Linked DNA regions of Homo sapiens: all the other regions are linked to region 1. The links are contacts of gene promoters, found by promoter capture Hi-C in blood cells and fetal thymus (Javierre and others, 2016). All regions are on one chromosome and are shown on one strand. The core of a region is centred on a gene start or on the middle of the fragment in contact, and the rest is flanking DNA. Distances in the headings are between cores, read along the strand shown.

What was found. The method cuts DNA at HindIII sites, captures the fragments that hold promoters and counts their contacts. A CHiCAGO score of 5 or more calls a contact.
Region 2: a fragment that was not itself captured here is called in contact with the fragment with the promoter of RARRES2 in region 1 in 1 of 17 cell types (total CD4 T cells); the score reaches 5.2 in total CD4 T cells.
Region 3: a contact is called between a fragment that was not itself captured here and the fragment with the promoter of RARRES2 in region 1, in 2 of 17 cell types (total CD4 T cells and activated CD4 T cells). The highest score is 6.1, in total CD4 T cells.
Region 4: a contact is called between a fragment that was not itself captured here and the fragment with the promoter of RARRES2 in region 1, in 2 of 17 cell types (total CD4 T cells and non-activated CD4 T cells). The highest score is 5.6, in total CD4 T cells.

The regions. Positions count from the first base shown.
Region 1 is chr7:150,339,799-150,345,574 of GRCh38, forward strand. It overlaps RARRES2 (retinoic acid receptor responder 2), which reads right to left and starts at 1,831. Exons shown (of 6, transcript NM_002889.4): 1 at 1,780-1,831; 2 at 638-831; 3 at 302-406. The coding sequence starts at 811. It overlaps LOC107986858 (a long non-coding RNA gene), which reads left to right and starts at 2,047. Exons shown (of 3, transcript XR_001745420.3): 1 at 2,047-2,539; 2 at 3,730-3,843. RefSeq lists a silencer at 870-939. The HindIII fragment of the contact is 3,952 bases long and covers 1-3,051 here.
Region 2 is chr7:150,923,717-150,929,492 of GRCh38, forward strand. No RefSeq gene overlaps it. Among named protein-coding and RNA genes, the nearest start is that of KCNH2, 52 kb to the right of the region's middle. The HindIII fragment of the contact is 359 bases long and covers 2,303-2,661 here.
Region 3 is chr7:150,892,230-150,898,005 of GRCh38, forward strand. No RefSeq gene overlaps it. Among named protein-coding and RNA genes, the nearest start is that of AOC1, 43 kb to the left of the region's middle. The HindIII fragment of the contact is 5,633 bases long and covers 285-5,776 here.
Region 4 is chr7:150,868,764-150,874,539 of GRCh38, forward strand. All of the region lies in intron 1 of LOC105375567 (a long non-coding RNA gene), which reads right to left. Among named protein-coding and RNA genes, the nearest start is that of AOC1, 19 kb to the left of the region's middle. The HindIII fragment of the contact is 8,356 bases long and covers 1-5,776 here.

The DNA.
Region 1 (5,776 bases), core at 581-3,080:
TTGAGAGAGGAACTCAGACCGAGGTGAGCCCTGCTCTGATGAAGATAAGTCCAGGGGTAACCAAACCATCTTCCTGTCTGCCAGGCCCCAGCTCCCACCAGCCACTCTCACAACCTTGGGCTCAGGCTGAGCCACTCCACCTCTAAGGAGGCTCTTCGCAGTGGGGTCTCTAACCTCAGGGCTTCTTAATGGACCTCCCAATTCATGCATGCACACCCAGGCATGTGCCCCACACCCCAAACCCCAAGTCCATGCACTCACACCCAGCATGCGCCCATTGCTCTCACACCCCTTCACTCACCCCATTGGGCCTGACTTTGCACTCGGGTTTCTTCCAGTCCCTCTTCCGGCAGCTTGTCTGCTGCAGCTTAAATTCCAGCCTCACAAATATTCCAGCTGGGAAGGGCTGCGGACAGACAGGCAGGCAGAGGATGGCCGGTAGCCAGCTGAGGGTGCAGAGCAAGCCCTGGTGTGATCCGCACCTCCCTCACGCAGTCACATTCCAGCAGGCTGGACAGTGGCCTTTTCTCCAAAGGGCTGGGGCTCAGAGCCCAAGCACTTCTGTCCCCCTTCGTGGGAATGCGCTGGTCTCCTGGGGTACGACCCTCCCCGCTCCTGCCCGGGCCATGCTACTCACCGTGTCCACGGCGCTCTCCACACTGGTCTCCTGGAAGGCCCACTGCACGGGCGGGTGCTTGTGAAATTCCTCCAGGGCCACCTGCAGGCCCCGGCGCTGGGCTTCCGTGAGCTCGGCGACGCCCACGCCCACCGCACCCAGCCACAGGGCCAGAGGGATCAGCAGCCGTCGCATGCTTCCGTGTCACCCTGGCCCTGCGAAGCGGGTGTGCGCCCCTCAGCTCTCCGAGCCAGCCCGAGCCGCCTCCTCCCGCGCCCTGCTCTGGGGGGAGGGTGGGGAGCGGGGGCGGGGTCCAGGCCTGTAGAACGCTGGGCACAGGTGAAGGAGCCTGGAAATGGCCCTTTCTCCAAATTGACCTTAGGGTCCGCCTGGCCCTCTCCGTTCCCTCCCACCCTGCCCGCGCTGTTCCCTGGGGCCTGCAGTTTTAGCAAAGTTCCCTGCCCACGCTAGGAATCAGTCAGTTCGCACTCCCACCCTACACCCCTAATCTTGCCCATTGTGTCTCTCCCTGGGTCTCCGGCACGACCCACTCTCCTCCCTGCCGTCCCCGGAGCCCCTCTCTCCTTTCCCCGCTCAGCCTTCTCCCCAACCGCTACTCCCTCCCCGTCCAGAATCCCCCTGCTCCCACGGGGTTCCCCCCACGTCCCCGAGGTCCAGGCCAGCCGGGGGAAGGGGCAGGGGCCGGAGGCCGAATACTTTTGGGAGGACCTAAACACGTGGGAGGGTCCGGACGGGTGGGAGCGGCGGGAGGCCTAATCCTCCCGGCGCGGGGGCTGCCGCGGGCCACCAGCCAGCCCCAGTCGCTAGGAATGGGGGTCTCGCGCCGCCCAGCCCTTGGCTTTCCCGCTTCAGGCAAAATCTTCCCTCCTTCCTCTTTTTTCTGGGGCCTTCCCCACGACCCCTCTTCCTAGCCCTTCTGATCCGTCCCCTGATGCATGACTGGGGCCACCGGAGGGGCTGACCCTCCCGGAGAGCCCCGTCGGTCCTGGTGGTCTTGGGACCGGAGAGCGACAGATGTGGAAACCGAGGCCCCTCAGTGAAGAGCTGCCAGGGTGGTCGCCTTAGAGCAAAGGCGTTCCTCATTCCGCCTGCGCAGCTGCCCCTCCGCCCGGCTGCCGCCCCAGCCCGCTTCCCCTCCTCACGTCCTTCCCTGCGCCTGGAGGTCTCCCCTGACCGTCCCGCAGCTGAAATCTTGGCCTCGCTGTCCGCCTCTTCCCGCTCTTCTTCTCGCGGGGCGGCCCCCACCTCCTCCCACCCCCACCTCCTGGACCCCCTCCAGCAACTCTGGCTCCTCCCCTCCCCAGTGGGACCGGCCTCTGGGGCGGGATGCCCTCCCGCGCCCTCCCTCCCCATCCCACCCCCCTCCTTCCCCTCGATCCAGCCCTCATGACCCTGACCCTGGCCGCGGCTGCAGGCGGCTCGCCCAGGCGCGCAGCCCTCGGTCCCACCTCCCTCTGGCTCGGGCCTGAGCATTCCGCAGCCTCGGCCGGCCCGGGCCTCTTCTCCGCTGCTCTGCTCCCCCAAGGACTTTCTGTGCCCCACTCCTACCCAGGCAGGGCTGCCCTGTCTTGGGTCCTTTACGGGGGACCATTCCCCAGCGTCCCTGAGACACTCATCCTGGGATTTCTTCCCCTAAATACAGACATTCTCAAACCAAATGAGACCTCGAGGTCCCTACACCTGATCCTGCCTCCCACTCCCTGAGCCACACTGAGAAGGAAGGTCTCTCCTTTAGGGAGGACTCTGGCGCCTGCAACCTTGATCGACAGCAAAGATGTCCAGTGTGTATCCTGCATCTGCCTTTCCTGACCATTCCTCGTGCCCCATTCTCCGTGGGATAGATTCTCATGGGGAGTGGGGGAGCCTTCGGGTGTGGCAGAACGGCATGATGGAATTCATAAGGTGAGCAGAAACTCAAGGAAAACTGTCCAAATACCGGCTCGACTCCTGGGTACGCTGGAGCAAGGATGAAGAAGCTCTGAGACTTTGCACGTCAGTAACCACCAACACCATGCCTCTGGTTCCCACACCGCAGGGATCACCTGAAGTAGAGGATCTCATGTAACTTCATGGCTCTCTCTGAACTTCTGTTTCTTTATCTGTAAGATGGGGATCAGAAACTCTGTCTTAAGGAGTTGTTTTGAGGATTAAATGAAGAAACATGAAAAGCAACTGATGTCCAGTGCCGAGCACAAGGCTTTTGTCCCCTACTTACGCACCCCTAACCAGGATTCTCCACTTAGAGCTGAGAATTTCCTTTACAGTGTGCTCTGGGGGCACCAGAAAGAAACTCGGCTTCCATTAACCACTTCCAGGTGTCTGAAATCCCACCACTACTTAGGGTACTTCACTCCCCAGCTGTGAGCTACTCAGCCGCCCTTAAGCAGAAAGAGATGGGATCCGTGTTCCCTGAAAGCTTTAGATGGGGTTAGAGAGAAAAGATGCACCCAAAGATGTTTCCCAGCCCAAGAACTTGAAGGAAACCAAAATATTTCACCCCAAAAAATACTTCTTTGACACATTTCAAGGTGGCTGTTCAGAATGGTTGGAAATAGAATAACCAAAAAGCTGTCTTTTTGTGGAGAGATTTGCATCTGTAGAGGAAATCTGCATTGATGTAGCCAGGCTTTCTCCGAGGCTCTCCCTTGTCTAACTCTAGGAAAGATTAACTGAGAGGCTGACACCTTTACAGATCTGAAAGAAACATTTACCCTCAGTTCTTTCTGAGGGCTGCTACCTGTGAGGTGTCATCTACCTAACAAGACTCCCTTTGCCAACCAGGCCTCCTCTTCCCTCCCTTCCATAACCTGTCTTGCCACTATCTGAGCCCCCATATTTGTATAAACTCAAGATGGTGGATAAGCTTCTGTATCCCACTGAGGGGTTGGGGTAATCACTTTGTGGTTCTCTCTCATGTATGTTAATAAATATTTCCTGTTAAAGCCGAGGCAGGAGGATTGCTTGAGCCCAGGAGTTCAAAGGTGCAGTGAGCTCTGATCATGAAACTGTACTTCAGCCTCTCTGGACAGAGCAAGACCTTGTCTCTAAAATATAAATGAATCAATTTATTCTATTAATCTGCCTTTCATCAGTTGATTTTTCAGCAAACCTTCAGAAGGCAAAGGGGAAGTTTTCCTTTGGCCCCCACAGACCCATGCTGGGGGACGTCCTGAGGATGGGTGAGGAGAGAAATCTTCCAGGACAAGGTAGGACTTGAGCTGAGCAAAGCGGGAAACTCATCCTGACTTTGGTGGGGGCTGGGGGGAAAGTTGCATCAGGTCTGTTGCAGGGGAGGTGAGGCAGTTGAGGTGGGGAGGTAGGTTGGGAGCAGGGTGGTGGGAGTTGGTGAGGAAGGAGCCAGTCTGGCTATACTTAAATGGCCACACAAAATTCACTTTGGGTGTAGGTATGTGAGGTGCACCCCAAAGAGGTGGACAGTCCTACTGCAGAGCACTCATAGGTGTGGATGTGTGAAAGGACTACTTAGGGCATATTCATGAGCTCAGCTCCAGGTAACATGTCCCAGTCCAGGGGAGCAACAACAGGACTTCACTATTTAATGATGGTTAATGATCTTCCTGGTCATGACAGCTAAAAAAGTAGACTCACGTATCCAGTTGTTCCAAGCTTAGTTTTCCAATAACTGAACTGAGTACCAAAAAACATTGTCCTTTAATATTTGCAACCACATTGACAAAAATAGTTTTTTTTAGAAGAAGTGATTTGACTTTGAAGTAAGAGCATATCAGTTGCAAAACTACACCTATTGAAGTTAAGTACATTTTCCAACTTGTGTCAATTCGGTACCATTAGCATAAATTCAAAAATGATATTGCATAAATTCAAAAGCCATTCTAAATTTATCAATATCAACTAAGAATTCTTCACATTTTTCTTGAAATTTTGCCAATTTACACAATGCTGTATATTACAATTAAAACCTCTGTATGTTGATTCTTGTGACAAAAGTATGTAGATTGTAATTATTTGTCAGTATTATGAAAATATTTAATTTGAAATGCTTATATTTATCTGGCTAGGTCACAAATGAGGTTTCATCTCCTTGGATATTCAAATTTAGCCCATTTATATGTAGTGTGGTATTGGTGAGAAAACACTGACTTTTTTATTTTTAATTATTGAATATTTGGGTTGAGAGTAGTGACTCATGCCTGTAATCCTAGCACTTTGGGAGTCCAAGGTGGGTGGATCACTGAACCCAGGAGTTCAAGACCAGCCTGGGCAATATAGAGAGAGGCTATCTTTACAAAAAAAAAAAAGTTTAATTAGCTGAGTGTGGTGGCAAAAGTCTGTAGTCCTGGCTACTCAGGAGGCTGGCGGGGGACGATCACTTGAGCCTGGGAAGTCAAGGTTGCAGTGAGCTATGATCATGCCACTACATGACCCTCCCACCTCAGCCTCCCAAAGTGTTGGGATTATAGGCTCAAGCCACCACTCTCAGACTTGGCCACAGAGCAAAACCTTGTCCCCAAAACAAATAATAATAATACTTATTGTTGTATATTTGGTAATCATGGCTTCTGTCTCAAGAAAATCTTGGAGTTAGTTAAAAGTACAGTAAATCTTAGGAGAACTCTTCTACAACCCTGACAATGAGCTTTGGTAAAGAAAAGATCATTAAATTCATTATCTTTCATTGCTTTCAACAGTTCCATAAAACCAGCAGTGATTCATAGCATTTCCACTTAAATACGGAATTAGTTTTAATGGCTGTAGCCATGAGACTTGCATAGAATAAATTTCAGAAAACTGAGCACAAATATCTTCAATATGTACCCTAAAGTGAAATGAAGCAACATTGGAAGCATCAATCTCTTGTTTTAGCATTCCAATAAATACCTCAGTCACACCAGCCACATGGCAAGTGTTCCTAAACCTGTGGCTGGTGGCTACCATATTGGATATTGCAGGCAGAGCATGTGTTACCAATTATGTGAGTAAAAACTAAAACTAAAAATGAACAAATTTTTGTGTTTGTAAATGCATGGAATATTTCTAGAAGGGAAAAACAAGAAACTTATAACAGTGTTTGCCTGTGAGGAGAGGATCTGTCCAGCTGGGGAAAACAGAGGCAGGAAAACTGTACTCCCTTTGTACTTTTAAATTTTTATAACTTGT
Region 2 (5,776 bases), core at 1,232-3,731, 580 kb after region 1:
GACGTGGCTTTCTTTAGAAATAAGGCCTTTGCAGATGTCATCAAGATGCCAAGAATTGCTGGCAACCACCAGAAGCTGAGAGAGGCAAGAAGACTCCTCCCTGGACCCTTCAGAGGGAGCATAGCCTGCCAACACTTTCAACTCCTGTCTTCCAGAACTGCCAGAAAGTCTGTTTCTGCCATTTAAAACTACCAGGTTTGTGGCATTTTGTTATAGCAGCCCTAGAAAACTTAATTCAACCCTGAAATCTTTATTATGTTTATTCAGTCTGTGCCCTTTGGACACATTGCCCTAAATAGGACATTTCCAGCACATAGGATACAGTAGTTAACTAGCATTTCATTAACGTCACCAGGTATATATTACACTTAAAATTTCTTAATAATTTCAATTAATAAACAGGACCAGATATGGATATTAATGGCCCACAATTGCTTGTTTGTTTAATATCCTCAAATCAATGCTGGGCCTGGTGGCTCACACCTATAGTCCCAGCTACTCTGGAGGCTGAAGCAGGAGGATTGTCAGAGCCCAGGAGTTTGAGGCTGCAGTGAGCTACGATGGCACCACTGCACTCCAGCCTGGGCAACAGAGTGAGACCCTGTCTCTAAAAAGAAAAAGAAGAAAATATATATATATGTATATATGTCCCCAAATCACCACATAAAAGAGAACAGAACCAGAATAGCAAAACCAAAACCCTTCCTGAAAACGTTTCCTGTTGTAGATCTATGGAGAATATCTACAACAAATCTGGGTGACAAGGTGTCCCCACAAACTCACAAACCCAAATTATGAATGTGTCCGGGCAAACTGCTGATAGCTTCAAGAGCAGCGTGATGTAAACAGTTGTGTAGGAAAGAGGAAGAGCAGGAAAAACAGCTGGGCCTCTGCTGGGCCCGGGGATCATAACAGCACAGCCCGTCTGGTGCGTGTCCAGGGACTCCCTGCAGGCCTGTCGGAGCGCAGCTGCCAGCACCGGGCAAGGGGTGTGTAGGTGCCGAGTCAGAGGTGAGAACAAGGGGACCTCAGTAAGATGGAACTGTGCTGGAGTGACCTGGACCCTGGGAATTCAGCACACTGACACACCACAGCTGCCTTCTGAGTCCAAATCTTGCACTGGGGAAAAACTGCTGAGAAAAGAATGTGAATTGATTGGGTTGGGGTCAATGGGGACAAAGAGAAGACAAGGCCCAGTTTAAAGTGAGGAGGAGATCAAAGGAGAGAGAGTGCTCAGAATGTGGGGTTCGTATCTTCTAACCCCGAGTGAAAGAACAGAAATCAGACTCTAGAGTCATAAAGTCCAAAAAAAGTTATCCTAGCCCAACCTTCTTCCCTAAAAGTACAGAAAATTCATTTTACTTAAGCATGAGCAGTGGGAAATAATTTCACATAAATATCATTCTAAGTTAATTTGAGAAAAAAGCGATGAGGAGCCAAATACTATCCTGCAGACAATGAAGGCTCACCAACCAGAATGACTTGGCCAAAGCACAAACCAACACTGGCCCTTCATAGTTCAAAATGAACAAAAATACACAAAGTGATGGATGCTATGAAGACCAGCATGAGTCAGAAGTAGAAAAGATCCAAAATAAGGAAATAAAACAATAGTATGAAAAGACAGAAGAGACTCAGATGTGAAATAAAAATTATTTTAGAAATGAAGTCTAAGTTAGAAGAACTGTCGGTGCAAATAGACACAGTGGATAATGTCTTAAATGAAATAAAGGATGAAAAAAGAAAAAAGTTTTAGTTAAAAGGTATGAACAAGGCAATGAAAAGAATACAAGAGAAAGTAACAGGAGGTGGACTAAGAAGATGAAGTATTCATATAATAAAAATCCCCAAGAAGAAAACAAAAGCCACAGAACAGAATAATATGGAAAACTAAATTTAGAATTTTCCTGAAATAAAGATACTTAAAACTGCATACTGTAATGGATATGGAAGCATATTGTACAATAGGAAAGTCGTCACAGGATCACCAACAGGGACATATGCTTGTGGGACTACACACTTTGAAAAGAAAAAAATCTTTGGATGTCCAGTTTAACAGACCAAGTTACTTATGGAAGGAAGTGGAGGAAAGATTAGGTTGCATTTAGATTTTTCAATGGCCATGCTTTATGCCAGAAGACAGTGAAGTAAAATATTTTAAGTACTCAAGGAAAGACAATGTGAGCCAAGACAACCTTTAAGTGGAAAGGCTATTGACAGATCTTAGTTATGTCTGCAAATGTTGGAGAACTCAGGGAGTGTCACTCTCATGCACTTTTACTGAAGAATCCACTAAAGAACAAGCTTCAAACAACACAAATGACTGGAAAGCCGTTCATACAAGGACTGGCTGTAAGTTCAGTGCCAAGATGAAACGATAATTATAAGGGCGGTCATGTAGAAGGTGAGGGCTGTGTTCTGACACTGTAGATAGATTACAACAGTCAAAAATCCAGGAGGGAGCCCAGCATGGTGGTGGCACCTGTGTCCCCAGCTACTCGGGAGGCTGAGGCAGGAGGATCACATAAACCCAAGAATTCGAGGCCACAGTGAGTTCTGATCACACGACTGCACTCCAGCCTGGATGACAGAGAGAGACCGCATCCCTTGAGAAAAAGAAAACAGGGGAGAGAGTGGGGAAAGTAGATAAAAAGTAAAACAAGCTTGCTGGTTGCCTTATAGGTAGAAACAGAAATTCAAAGAGTATCGCTTCAGAATATATGCTGGAGCAGACAAGGGAGGGAGAAGATATTACTAACCAATTTTAATCTTGCTTGAAGTAGGGAACTAATACAAAATAACCACAACTAGGAAGCTAAAAGTGTCATATAAAGGTATTAGAATAAAGGTATTTATTAGAACAAAAATTCAAACCTTCTAAATACCAAAAGAAAGCTAAAAAAATTGATCACATTGATATATCGATATAGACATAGATATGTGCATACAATGATATGTATAATAAAACAATGTGACAACTGGGGTCAAACACATAGATCAGATCAATCAATATAATGGGGCTTAACTCAGCTGTTAGAAGAAAAAGGTATCCATATTGGCAAAAAAGGAAAAATCCAATATTATACTATATATCAGAGGCAATACTAATACAAAGAGATTGCAAAAGTTTAAAAATAAAAGCTTATCAAAATGTTCAGTATAATTGAAAGATACAACAGGCAAATAAAAATTAAAAGAAATTATGAGTCACCATCTTGATATCCAACAAGGCAGGATTCAGACCAGAGAGCATTAAATGAGACACAGAAGGAGGCTACAGAATCCCAAAGTCTGCAATCATGATGGAGATCTAACAGTAGGTGCCACTTATATGGCAGTGGCTTAGCAACAACTGTCATGAAGCAGAAAATATAAGAGATGACAGGAGAAATATACAGAAACATGTTGTTTTAAAAAAAAATAAGAATATTTAACACACCTGTCTCAATCCAAGACAAATCAACTAGATAAATAGATAAATAGATGATAGAGATAGATAGATGATAGATAGATAGATAGATAGATAGATAGATAGATAGATAGATAGATAGATAGAAGAGAGAGATGAGAGAGATAGATGGATGATTGATTGATAGATACAAAGAAAATTGATAGATGATGGATGATTGATAGATATAAGATAGATAGATAGATACATAGATACATAGATAACAGAGATAGAAAGGTGATTGATAGATGATAGGTAGATAATTGATAGATGATAGATACATAGATAGATTAGATAGATGATAGATAGATAGATAGTATGTAGAAAACAAAATCATTAAAGTAGATATTATAGGTAAATTAAGCAATGAGGGTGGATGCCGTGATGTGTCACCCAGATTGTCTTTCTGAAATAAATGTCATAATCCCTACCTATGATGGAAAGTGCCACCAGAGGATGGCCCTCTGCTGTCCGCCCTCCCATGGATTTGCCTTGGCAGGAAAAAAACTGCCTCACCAAAGGTCACACCTCCTTCCGGAGCAGCCCACACTCAGTGATGGATTAACACGGGGATAGAACAGCCAGGCCCATCATTCCTACGCAGCCTCTCTGAAGGGCCCTGCCAGCCCTAGAGGTCACTGTGGGCTCAGCTGGGCTCTCTGTTGAGGTTGAGTCACAGGCGGACTTGTCCCTCTACCCAGTCCTCCCTCTTCTCCCTCCTTCCAGTCTCTGTCTCAGAGTCTGCTCCCAGGGAATTCAACCTGTGATGGAAATATATAAATTAAAAAGACACAGATACCATTTCTCATCTATCAAATTGGGCAAAGATCCAAAAGTGTGACAGCATAGTCTGTTGGCGAGGTTAAAGAAAGAAGTATTCCCACGTTGCTGGTGGGAACTTTAGCAATATCTTACAAAATTACATATGCATTGACCTTTGACCCAGCAAATCTTGGAATTCCTCCCAAAGATATAGTAGCAAAAATATGAAAGGATGTATGCACAAGACTATGTATTGTAGCAGAATTTTGTAATAACAACAAAGGACTGGAAACAAATGGCAACCACCAGGGGACCGTTTGAGTCAGCTATATCCAAATGATGACATACTACACAGCTGTGAGGGAATGAGGCGTGTCTCTTCTTACTGATGTGGACTCCTCTCCAGATACTAAGTGGATCAAGCAAGGAAGAAAAAAGTACGTATGGACATTTCATTCATCTAAAAAACACAAGTAGGGAAACTAGAGGCATACATACATACACTTGCTTATTTTAAAAAATGTTGAAAGGACAAACACAAATACCTTAACAGTTATCTATGGGAGAGGAGGGGAGTAGACAGGCATAGAAATGAGACTTCTTTGAATATACTTTGCTTTGTAGATTCAACTTTAGAATTAAACTTAAAATGCAAGTCCTAAAAATGAAAAGGGAAATTACACAAATGAACCATAATTACGGAACATAACCATGCAAGAAGGAATTATTCCAACCGACTTAAACACAGTAATTTCACTATACGTCCCTAGTGGGATATATTAAGGACAAAAAGAACTTCAAAAATATCACAAAGAGATTTCCAGTCACCATAGTGTTAGTTGTGGTGGTTGGTATTACTGCTCTGAGACTATTGCATGTGTGTTTGTTGTGAGATAAAGCCAATGAGTAATGATGTTGGTGCCATGAAGAGTCAGGATTTTCAGTGTGGGGAAAAGGGGATAAAGATGTAAGATCCATGAGGTTAAATTAAAACTCTGCAGTTCTGAATTAGAATTAGTGACAACAGCATGAACACATTATATAATGTCTTAAAAGGAATGCTTATTTCCTAGCTATAGCCATTGAAAGGACCCAGACCATCTAGTAGTAGTAATGAGAACTCCTAGCTATAAATACATTTCCTATTAAAAAGAACCGAGACTCATCGGAGAAATGGCTGTTTCCAAGATCAGGACAGGAAAGGTACAAAATGATTTGGTCTGGAACATCTTGTAATATCATAAAACAAGGAAGCTATCAAGTTTGTATGCTAAGTACTCTTAACACACACAAGGGCCCACAAGGAAACTCTGGGAGGTTTTGGATCTTTCACCCTGATTGTGGACATGCTATCACAGGCATTTGCATATGTCCAAACTCATTAGATTATATACGTTAAATATGTGCAATCCTTTGATTGTCAATGACGGCTCAATAAAGCTGTGTTTGGGGGGAAAAAAAAACCTACCAGGGTCATGTCAAAATAACTCAGGAACCAACCTGAATATAAGTTCCCACTGGCCAAAGATGGAAACATGTGAGATCAATAAGGATAATAACTGGGAA
Region 3 (5,776 bases), core at 1,851-4,350, 550 kb after region 1:
GCCTATTTGAGCATGAAGGGGGTTCACTGAGGCAGGGGTGTGCTTGGAGAAGGGGTGCCATGGCTCTCCTCCCACCACTTCAAGTCACATGAGGGGCCCCCAGGGAATGACTGGGAGAGATGCAGCACCTGCCTGGGGAAGGGGCATGGGAGAGGACCCCACACCCCGGCTACCTGTTGAGTGGTTGTGGAAACACACAGGCCCTTCCTATCTGGAGCTTGCCATGGACCCCACAAGTTTGGCACATACATGGATTTAGAGACTGGTGCCTACTTATTGCCAGAAGCTTGAAGGTGGCCGGTTAGCCAAGCAGCCTGAGATGGCCAGGCAGTGGGAATAGCCTACACCCACCTCTTATAGTGACAAGGATGACGGGAAACTCCAGAGAAAGTGGCCTGTGGACCTCTTGAAGATACAGATATGCCTCATGTTATTGCACCTTGCTTTATTGCGCTTTGCATATATTGTATTTCTTACAAATTGAAGGTTTGCAGCAACCCTGCATGGAGCAAGTCTATCAGCACCATTTTTCCAAAAGCAAGTGCTCACTTCGTGTCTCTGGGTCATATTTTGGTAATTTGTGCAATATTTCAAACTTTTTCACTATTATTATATCTGTTAGGGTGATCTGTGATTAGTGATCTGTGATCTGATGTTACTACTGTTATTGTTTTGAAGCACCGTGAGCCATGCCCGTGTAAGACGGTGAACTCAGTCGGTTAATGCTGTGTGTGTTCTGAATGCTTCACTGACCATTTCACATCTATCTCCCTCTCCTTGGGCCTCCCAATTCCCGAGGCACAATAACATTGCAGTTAGACCAATTAATAACACTACAATGGCCTCTAAATGTTCAAGTGAAAGGAAGAGTTGCATATCTCTCACTTTAAGTCAAGCTCTAGAAATGGTTTAGCTTAGTGGGAAAGGCATGTCAAAAGCCAAGATGGGCCAAAAACTGAGTCTCTTGCACCAGTTAGCCAAGTTTTGAATGCAAAGGAAAAGTTCTTGAAGGAAATTAAAAGTGCTACTCCAGTAAACACATGAATGATAAGAAAGCAAACAGCCTTATTGCTGATATGGAGGAAATTTTAGTGGTTTGGATACAAGATCAAACCAGCCACGACATTCCCTTGAGCCAATGTCTAATCCAGAGCAAGGCTCGAACTCTCTTCAATTCTATGAAGGCTGAGAGTTGAGGAAGCTACAGAAGAAAAGTCTGAACCCAGCAGAGATTGGCTCATGAGGTTTAAGGAAAGAAGGTATCTTCATAACATCAAAGTGCAAAGAGAAGCTGCAGCAAGTTATCCAGAAGACCTAGCCAAGATCAATGATGAAGGTGGCTACATAAACAACAAATTCTCAAAGTAAATAAGACAGCCTTCTGTTGGAAGAAGATGCCATCGAGGACTTTCATAACTAGAGACATTCATAGTCAATGCCCGGCTTCAAAGCCTCAAAGGACAGGCTGACTCTCTTGTTAGGAGCTGATGCAGCTGGTGATTTTAAGTTGAAGTCAATGCTCATTTACCATTCTGAAAATTCTGGAGCCTTTAAGAGTAACGCTATATCTACTCTACCTGTGCTCTATAAATGAAACAACAAAGCCTGGATGACAGTATATCTGTTTACAGAATGGTTTACTGAATATTTTAAGGCCACTGTTGAGACCTACTGCTCAGAAAAAAACTGTTCTTTTCAAAATATCACTGCCCATTGACAATGCACCTAATCACCCAAGAGCTCTGATGGAGACATGCAAGGAGTTAATGTTGTTTTCATGCCCACTAATACAACATCCATTCTGCAGCCCATGGATCAAGGAGCAATTTCAACTTTCAAGTCTTATTATTTAGGAAATACATTTTGTAAGGCTCTAGCTGTCGTAGATAGTGATTCCTCTGATGGATCTGGGCTAAGTAAATTGAAAACCTTCCTGAAAGGATTCACCATTCTAGATGCCATTAAGAACATTTGTAATTAATGGGAAGAGGTCAAAATAGCAACATTAACAGAAGTTTGGAAGAAATTGATTCCAACCCTCCTGAATGATTTTGAAGGGTTCAAGACTTCAATGGAGGAACTCACTGCAGATGTGGTGGGAATAGCAAGAGAAGTAGAATTAAAAGGGGAGCCTGAAGAGGTGACTGAGTTGCTGCAATCTCATGACTAAACATGACTGGCAGCCAGGCGCAGTGGCTCAAGCCTGTAATCCCAGAACTTTGGGAGGCCGAGGTGAGCGGATCATCAGAGGTCAGTAGTTCAAGACCAGCCTAGCCAACATGGTGAAACCCCTTCTCTACAAAAATACAAAAATTAGCAGGGCATGGTGACATGTGCCGGTAGTCCCAGCTACTCAGGAGGCTGAGACAGGAGATCACTTGAACCCAGGAGGCAGAGGTTGCAGTGAACTGAAATTGTGCCACTGCCCTCCAGCCTGGGCAACAAAGCGAGACTCCATCTCAAAACAAAACAAACAAAAAAAAACCTTGAATGGATGAGGTGTTGCTTCTTATGAATGAGCAAAGAAAACAGTTTCTTCTTTCTTTTTTATTTTCTTTTTTGAGACAGAGTCTTGCTCTGTTGCCCAGGCTGGAGTGCAGTGATGTAATCATGAATCACTGCAGCCTCAAGCTCCTCAAGTAATCCTCCCACCTCAGCCTCCAAAATAGCTAGAACAAGTGAATGCTACCATGCCTGGTTCTTTTTCTTTCTTTTTTTTTTTTATATATAGGCAGGGTCTCACTATGTCGCCCAGGCTGGTCTCAAAGTCCTGGCCTCAAGTGATCCTTCCACCTAGGCCTGGGATGATTCCAGGCTGGGATTACAGACATGAGCCACCACATCCTGCCTGTTTCCTTAGATGGAATATACTCCTGGTAAAGACGCTGTAAACATTGTTGAAACGACAACAAAAAAATTAGAATATGACATAAACTTGGTTGATAAAGCAGCAGCAGGGTTTGAGAGAATTGACTCCAATTTTGAAAGAAGTTCTACCTTGGGTAAAATGCTACCAAACAGCATTGCATGCTACAAGGCAATATATTATGAAAGGACAGTCCATTGATGTGGCAAAATTCATTGTTTTCTTGTTTTAAGAAATTGCCACAGCCACCCCAGCCTTCAGGAACCACCACCCTGATCAGTCAGCAGCCACCAACACCAAGGCAGAACCCTCCACCAGGAAAAAGATGATGACTCACTGAACGCTCAGATGATTGTTAGCATTTTTTTGCAATAAAGATTTTTTTAATTTAAAGTATGTACATTGTATTTTTGACATAATGCTATTGAACACTTAATAGGCCACAGTATAATATAAACATAACTTTTATATGCACTGGAAAACCAGTGGATTTTTATAACTCACTTTATTGCAATATTTGCTTTATTGCGGGGTCTGAAAGTGAACCCACAATATTTCCAAGGTGTGTCTGCACCTGTTGTGGGTTGAACTGTGTCCTCCAAAAAGATATATTGAAGTTCTAACCCTTGGTACCTATCACTGTGACCTTATTTGGAAACAGGTCTTTGCAGATGTGATCAGTTAAGACGAGGTCACGCTAGAGTAGCGTGGACCCTAATCCAATGGCCAGTGTCCTTATAAGAAGAAGAGAAGACACAGAGAGACACATACACACTCAAAGAAGAAGCCCATATGCAGACAGAGGCAGAGATTGCAGTGATGCTTTCACAAACCATGAAACACCTGGGGCTACCAGAAGCCAGATGGATAAGGAAGCATGCTCCCCTAGAGGTTGCAGAAGGAGCGTGGCCCTACCAACACCTTGATTTTGACCTTCTGGCCTCCAGAACCATGAAAGAATACATTTCTGTTGTTTTGAGTCACCCAGTTTATGCACCTTGTGGTGGTGGCCACAGGAATCCAGTAACACCCCCTTCTAAGAGGGCAGCCAGGCAGACGAGGAGAACTATGCAGTTAGAGGCTGTGGGGTGGACAGCAGGGGACAGGTCATCAGGGCACTGTGCAGGTCCAGGTCCATGATGCTCGGAAGAACACACACCTGCATCCAGCAGAAGAGCCAGTGTTGCATATCAGCCACCCAGAGCCCAAGGGTCCATGTAAGCAAAAATGGCCACGCCAGTGGGGCCACTTTTCCTCCAAGCCCCCTCCCCTCCATCCTGGCCCCAGGAGCATCAGCAGGTGTGGGAGAGGAAGAGAGGAGGGGACGGCCAGACCTGCCCCTCCCCAGGGTAGGAGCCTTGGACCTGGGGTCCAGCAGAGCTGGGAGGAGAGGCAAAACTGAACTGGATGTCAGATGTTGGTTGAACTTGACAGACCTGTTTCACACACAAACACAATCAAAAAACTATGGTGGGATCTGCGCCAGCCTGATTAAGGTGGGGAAGGAAGATCCAGCAAGACACACGGGTTGGGAATCAGGGACTGCTGGGAGACTTAGCACGGAGACACTGGACTTCAGGGAACTGGAAGCTGGGAGGATGGGTGAACTAAGAGATAAACAGGGTGGGTACTCCAGAGACAGCAATGCCCAGAGAGGCAGGGGCAGAGGGAGGGCGTGGAGTTCCCAGACCCTGCAGCCGGGTCACCAGTGGAAGCTGGGAGCCCTGGGGGCCTGTCTGTCGCAGCTGGAGAGAAAGGGAGAGAAGGTCCAGCCCCCTCTGTCTCATGCTCAGGCCTCCCATGGGTGGAACCTGGAAGTGTGGGAGATACCACTTGCAGGGGTCTGTCCCCACAAGACATGGCAGAGGAGGGAGAGGACAAGTGTAGAGTCTCAGGACAACAGATCCAGGACCAGCACCGCATGTAGAAAGGCAGTGAAAGGAAAGGGGGAGACCTCCACTTCGGCCCTGCCCCCTCCCTATCTAGCTCCGACTGGTCGGCAAACTGGTTCCCAGCCATGCAGCCCCAGGAAATGGCATTGATGGTGCTTGGACCCAAAGTCATGTCTGTGGGGTTCATCTCCTGGAGGAGGATCCCTGGCCACACCCCTTGGGGTGGACAGATCCCTCTCCCTGGAAATTCCCCTTTGGGGTAGGCAGATCCCTCCATCTAGCAATTTGCAGTTCACAGACCCCAGAATGCAGGGCCAGAGACAGGGACACTCCCAGAGTTACCCGGGACATCCCTGTATGTGTTTGGTTGTGGATCAGAGGAGGGAGAGGCTTGTTCAACACACAGCCACCTGCCCCTCACCAGAGACAGAGACCCTGGGGCTGGGGAGGAATCCAGTCCATTCGCTCCAGACACCCACCCCAGGCTCAGGAACAGTGCAGAAGAGAGACAGGGGCTGGCTCCGAGTGAGAGAGACACCCGCCATTCCCAAACCCTCTTTGCGGAGGACCACGAAGAACCCACCAAGCAGTGTAAGGAAAGAAGAAAACAAACAAGGACTTATGACCCGGGCCCACCTCTCACTCCAGCCCCAAGTCACTTCCCCTTCATGTAAAGCAGGTGTTATTTTGTTTGCGGCTCTTCAGCTGCCAGGTGGGGATGCAAATGAGAAAAGCTGAGACTCAGTTGTTTCACAGAAAGAAGAGGAAACCAGAAGATGTCGGGACACCAGAGCCTGTTGCTTTTCGAGGCCTTTTAGGATAGGGTAGCAATTGAAGGTGGCCTCAGAAAAGGATGATTGGGAAAGGGGGAGGTAACTGAGGTCCCCTCACCTAGCCTGGGGGCCCCTTCTCTTCACCAACACCTACAAACCCTTGGCCTCAAAACCCAGGCAGTGTTCCGGCCACCTCATGTAGCAAGGGGAGCCTGGAGACAGAGGACGGGCCCCGGGTCACACAC
Region 4 (5,776 bases), core at 2,191-4,690, 530 kb after region 1:
AAAACCACACAACCTTCCAACCACACTGCAACAGGGCTCCTTCACAACTAGGAGGAAAAGCCCCAGGCCACAACATTCAAAAGCCCCTGTGCTTCCCACCAGCTTCGGTGGAATGAGCCTTCCCTGTCCATCCCCAAGAGCACTTGTCCACTCTTGTTCCTGTGTTCCTACTGCCCCTAGTTCTCACCCCGTTGCCCTCTGTTGATTTGTGATGCTTATTTCTCAGCATCCATTTCTATGTTTTCTTTGCTGCCCTTCTCTATCCCAGCAGTGTCAACCCTGGCTGTGCACCAGAGTCACCTAGAGAGGCTTCTTAAGGATCCCAGTGTTGTGCTGCTTCGTGCCACACCAGTCATATCAGAATATCCAAGGGTGGTCCTGAATACTGTGTTTTTGGGAAGCTCTAAAGATCATTCTGAGAGAGGAGCCAGGTTTGAAAACACCACTTTTTTTTTTTTTTTTTTTTTTTTGGTTTTTTTTTAGACAGAGTCTCACTCTCATTGCCCAGGCTGGAGTGCAATGATGCGATCTTGGCTCACTGCAACCTCCGCCTGCCGGGTTCAAGCGATTCTCCTACCTCAGTCTCCCGAATAGCTGGGATTACAGGCACTTGCTATCATGCCTGGCTATACTCTTAACGTGTACAAAAAAACTTGTTTCTTGTCCCTTCTCTGAGCCCAGAGCAATAGTTTAGGATGTCAATAGCTGAGTTTGATGGTGACATTTAACAGTAGTGTTGTAACAGGTGTTTAAGCTCTAAGACCAATCATAGAGCTTGTGCACTTGAGCTCAGAAAAGTTACAGACAGTAAGGGACATCCTAAAGATCCAGGAAAGGCTGGAATTTGTCCCCTCTCTCTGTGTCACTGTGAATGACCTGTGTTCTATTGACTTGCTGCTGCCCACGCAGGATCTGGACTAGGTTTTCTAGTTGGGTTTCAAAGTATTTGCCCCAAGGCCAGGTGCAGTGGCTCATGCCTGTAATCCCAGAACTTCAGGAGGCTCAGGCATGCAGATAGCTTGAGCCCAGGAGTTTGAGACCAGCCTAGGCAACATGACAAGACCCAGTCTCTACAAAAAATACAAAAATTAGCTGCGTTGGTGGTGCATGCATGTAGTCCCAGCTACTTGGGAGGCTGAGGTGGGAGGATTGCTTGAGCCCGGGAGGCAGAGGTTACAGTGAGCCGTGATTGTACTACTGCACTCCAGCCTGAGCAACAGAGTGAGACCTTGTATCAAAAAAAGGTCTTTGCCCCAGCCATGATCCTAACCCAGCATCCCAATATCACCACAGCCTTCACTGAGCCCCTGCTGAGATGGAAACTTGTCCCCAAGAAAGGAAGTATGGAAATAAGTAGGAGGTAGGGGGGAACTGAGAGCACAGCCTGAATATTCTGAGTTCCCTGTAGCTGCTGGCCTGGCTGTACATTGAGAGGCAATACAGATACAGGTGATGGTTTAAAGGATAGCTCAGGAATCACTCAGATCTCTGTCTCCCTCTTCACATGGCTGGCTTGCCTGGGTGTCTCTGTGTCTTTGCATTTCTCCTTTTATAAGGACACTAGTCATTGGGTTTAGGGCCCACCCTACTCCAGTAGGACCTCATTTTAACTCAATTACATCTGCAAGACTCTAATTCCAAATAAGGTTACGTTCATGGGAACTGGGGATTAGGACTCAAATATATCTTTTGAGGGGGTCACAATTTAGCTCACAATACAAATCTTTTCTATATCTCTACATTTCAGGGAAAGAAATGGACACAGAATTCTAGACAGTCTCACCAGGACTGAGAACAGCCATTTCCCAAGTCACTGGACTCATGGGAAATATGATGGACACTTCCTTAACCTCTATTATATTTCCCTCCTAATGTATCTTCCTGTTCTGCAGCAACTAGAAAGTTAAACTCTCCATTTCCCAGATTGTTTTATATCTAAAGCTCTGTATAGAATTAGTTTCTACCAATCAGGAGCATTTGAGCAAGATCTGGAAGATGAAAGGGATACTGAAACTGCCTTTCTGCCCTTGATGCTGCTGTGTTTGCAGGCGAGGTCAAGGAGTGGCAACAGCATTCCAGTCCCCAGCTTCCCAGGCCTAGAAAGGCAGGGACTGGCAGAATGATCATGCACTTGTGTGTGCTGCAGGGCCCATTCTCCTAGGAACCTGGCCTCCCAACTTGGCCTCCCAACACTTTAGGAAGCTGAAGCAGGAAGATCGCTTAGCCCAGGAGTTTGAGATCAACCTGATCAAAATAAAGAGAACTTGTCGCTTCAAAAAAAAAAATAAAAAGGTTTTTTTTAATTAGCCAGGCATGGTTGTGCACACCTATAGTCTCAACTGCTTGGGAGGCTGAGGCAGAGAATGGCTTGAGCCCAGAAGTTCAAGGCTGCAGTGGAGCCATGATCACACCACTGCACTGCAGCCTGGGTGACAGAGTGAGACCCTGTCTCAGAATAAATACATTAATTAAATAAAACCTCACATATAGAGTTGACTTTTGATGAGATTACCAAAACAATTCAATAGCAAAATAGACTTTCAACAAACAGTGCTGGGACAACTGGATATACACATGTAAAAGAATGAAACCGGAACCCTAGTATTTATCATATATAAAAATTATCTCAAAATGAATCAAAGACCTAAATGTAACAGCTAAAACTCTTAGAATAAAATGTAAGCATAAATCTTCACGACCTTGCCAATTTTAGGCAATGATTTCTGAGATATAACATCAAATGCCCAAGCAACAAAAGAAAAAAATGATAAAATAAACTTCATCAAAATGTAGAAACCTTTGTGCTTCAAAGGATATCATTAAGAAAATGAAAAGACAACCCACAGAATGGGAGAAAATACTTGCAAATCATATATCTGATATGGGTAACCCAATTTAAAAATGGGCAAAGGATCTGAACAGACATTTCTCCAAGGAAGATACATAGTAACCAATATCACATGAAAAGTTGCTCAACATCATTAGTCATAAGGGAAATGCAAATCAAAACCACAATGGGATACCACTTCATCCCCACCAGGATGGCTGTAATCAGAAAGACAGATAACAACAAGTGTTGGTGAGGATGTGGTGAAATTATAAACTTCATACATTGCTGGTGGGAATATAAAATAGTGCAGCTACTTTGGAAAACAGTCTGGCAGTTCTTCAAAAGGTTAGACAGACTACTATAGAATACAGAAATTTCACCCCAGGTATGTGTCCAAGAAATATGAAAATGTGTCCATACAAAAAGTTGTACATGAATGTTTATAGCAGCATTATTTATAATAGTCAAAAAGTTGAAACAAAACAAATATCCAATAACTGATGATTAAATAAACAAAATGTCATATATCCATACAATGGAATATCATTCTGCAATAAGGAAAAATGAAATATTGATACATGCTACAACATGGATGTACCTTGAAAACATTAGCTAAATGAAAGAAGACAAATGCAAAAGACCATGTAGTATATGATTCTACTTATTTGAAGTGTTCATAATATACAAATCCATAGAGGCAGAAAGTAGATTAGTGGTTGCCATGGTCTGGGAGGATTGGGGAGAATTGGATATAGAGTTTCTTTTAGAGGTAATGAAAACATTCTAAAATTGGTTGTGACAATAGATTTAATAAATCTATAAATTGTATAGTATGTGAATTGTATATCAATAAAGCTGTGATATTTTAAAAAGGATATGTTTCAGTATTTGCTGTTAAGTGATAAAGGCAAGTCACAGAATAATAAACATTGTAGAATTCTATTTATATAAACAAAAAACACACTTCCATATGTGTTTTAATGTTTTATGAACATTTACTCATATATTGTTTTTGTAATCTTTAAAAAATTTAATTACAAAAATGTAGCCATCCTAATATATAACAAAATAGAATTCATAGCCAGGAAATATCAAAAGAGATAGAGATATGTTATATCTATAGATGAAAAGAAACTCAAGAAGCATATCAGCTAATTCTAAGGTATGAATCTCATTAGGATCCTAATTTAAGTAAAGAGAATAGAAATATTTATAAGACAATTGGAAAATTAGAACACTGGATATTTGATGGTATTAAGAAATTATTGTTAATTCTTTAGGTTTGATAGGGTATTATGATTATGCTTAAAAAGAATTCCTTATCTTTTATAGATAGATGCTAGTGTATTTACTTTTTAAATGATATTATGTTTGCCATTACCTCAAAATAATCCAGTAGAAGGGGTGTGGAAGAGTTTGTGTAGTATGGATAAAATAAGAGTAGCCATGAGTAGTTGAAGCTGGATGATGGATTTGAGAGGGTTCATTATATCCTTCTCTCTACTTCTGTATCAGCTTGAAAGAGGTATAGTATATCTTGATGAAAGAAACAATAGACAAAGAAGATACAACATGCATAACATATATGCATCTAACAACATAATCTCAAGCAAGAAGAAGAAAACCAACAACATTGCTGATTTTAGTACATAAATCTCAGAACTGATAGATCAAGTAGACAAAAAAAGCAAAGACATAGATTATCTAAATAAGACATTTAATAAACTCATATTTGTATATAACCCTCCACAAACCAAAGAATGCATGTGTATATTGTGTACATATAACATTCACATAAACTGACCAAATAATGATTTTAAAAGAAGTCTCAAATTCTAAAGAATTGAAAGCATACAGACCATGTTCTGAGACCATAATGTAATGAAATATATGAATAAATAAATAAAAAAACCGTGCTCTTTGATAGTATGGCTTAACATTGTAAAGATATCCATCCTCCTCAAATGTTTTTTATAATTCCAATCCCAATCAAAATCCCAACCAGAATTTTTTAGGGGTTAATGAATTTATTCTAAAACATATGAAAAATGGGTTCACAAATGGTGAAATCATTTTTCAGAAAGAAGGACAAAGAAGTGAGACTGGTCCCATCAAATATTAAGTTACACTATAAAGCCATGGAAATTTTTTTAATCATGGTATTGGCTCAAGAGTAGACCAACAGACCAACAGAACCAAAAAGAGCTCAGAGACTCATGAATATAAGGGAATTACGAAGAAACAGGAAAAAACTGACTGTTTAGTAGGTTATAGTGGGGAAAAGCTCCCATAATATGGAGAAAAATAAAACTGCATCCTTACCTGATATAATATACAATGAACTTCAGCAAGAGTAAGAATCTATACATAAACAGTGAAACTAAAAATGTAGGAAAATATTTGTGACCTAAAGGTGGAAATTTTCTTAAACAAGACCTAAAAATCATAAACCACAAGGTAAAAAAATATGTAGATTTGATTTCATTAATATTACAGGTTTCTATTCAACAAAGGAATCCATAGTCAAAGTTGAGAGGGAGAAGATACTTTCAACATCTCAAACTGACAAAGAATTCATAATTAGAATATATAGGAAACTTCTGCAAATCTGTAAGTAAAAGTCAGAAACCCATTCTATAAATGGCAAAGTATAGAAGCAAGTAATTCATAGAAAAAACAAATTAATAACAAATATATCAAGAGATTATCAAAATTAGAAAATTATCTAGTGCCAAATATAAGCAGGGCTTTCAGAAACACAAACATGGGTCTAAGGTGGGTTTTGTGCCTTTGGAAATGTGGACTGATGAAGCCTCTCTGTAACATAGCCTGCATGTACTTGGTGAAATTGAACATACATACATCCTATGACTCAGAAAGCCCACTACAAATTATACCTAATTGAAAGAAATTCTCCCCCAGGACTATGAAGGGATGAGAACAAGG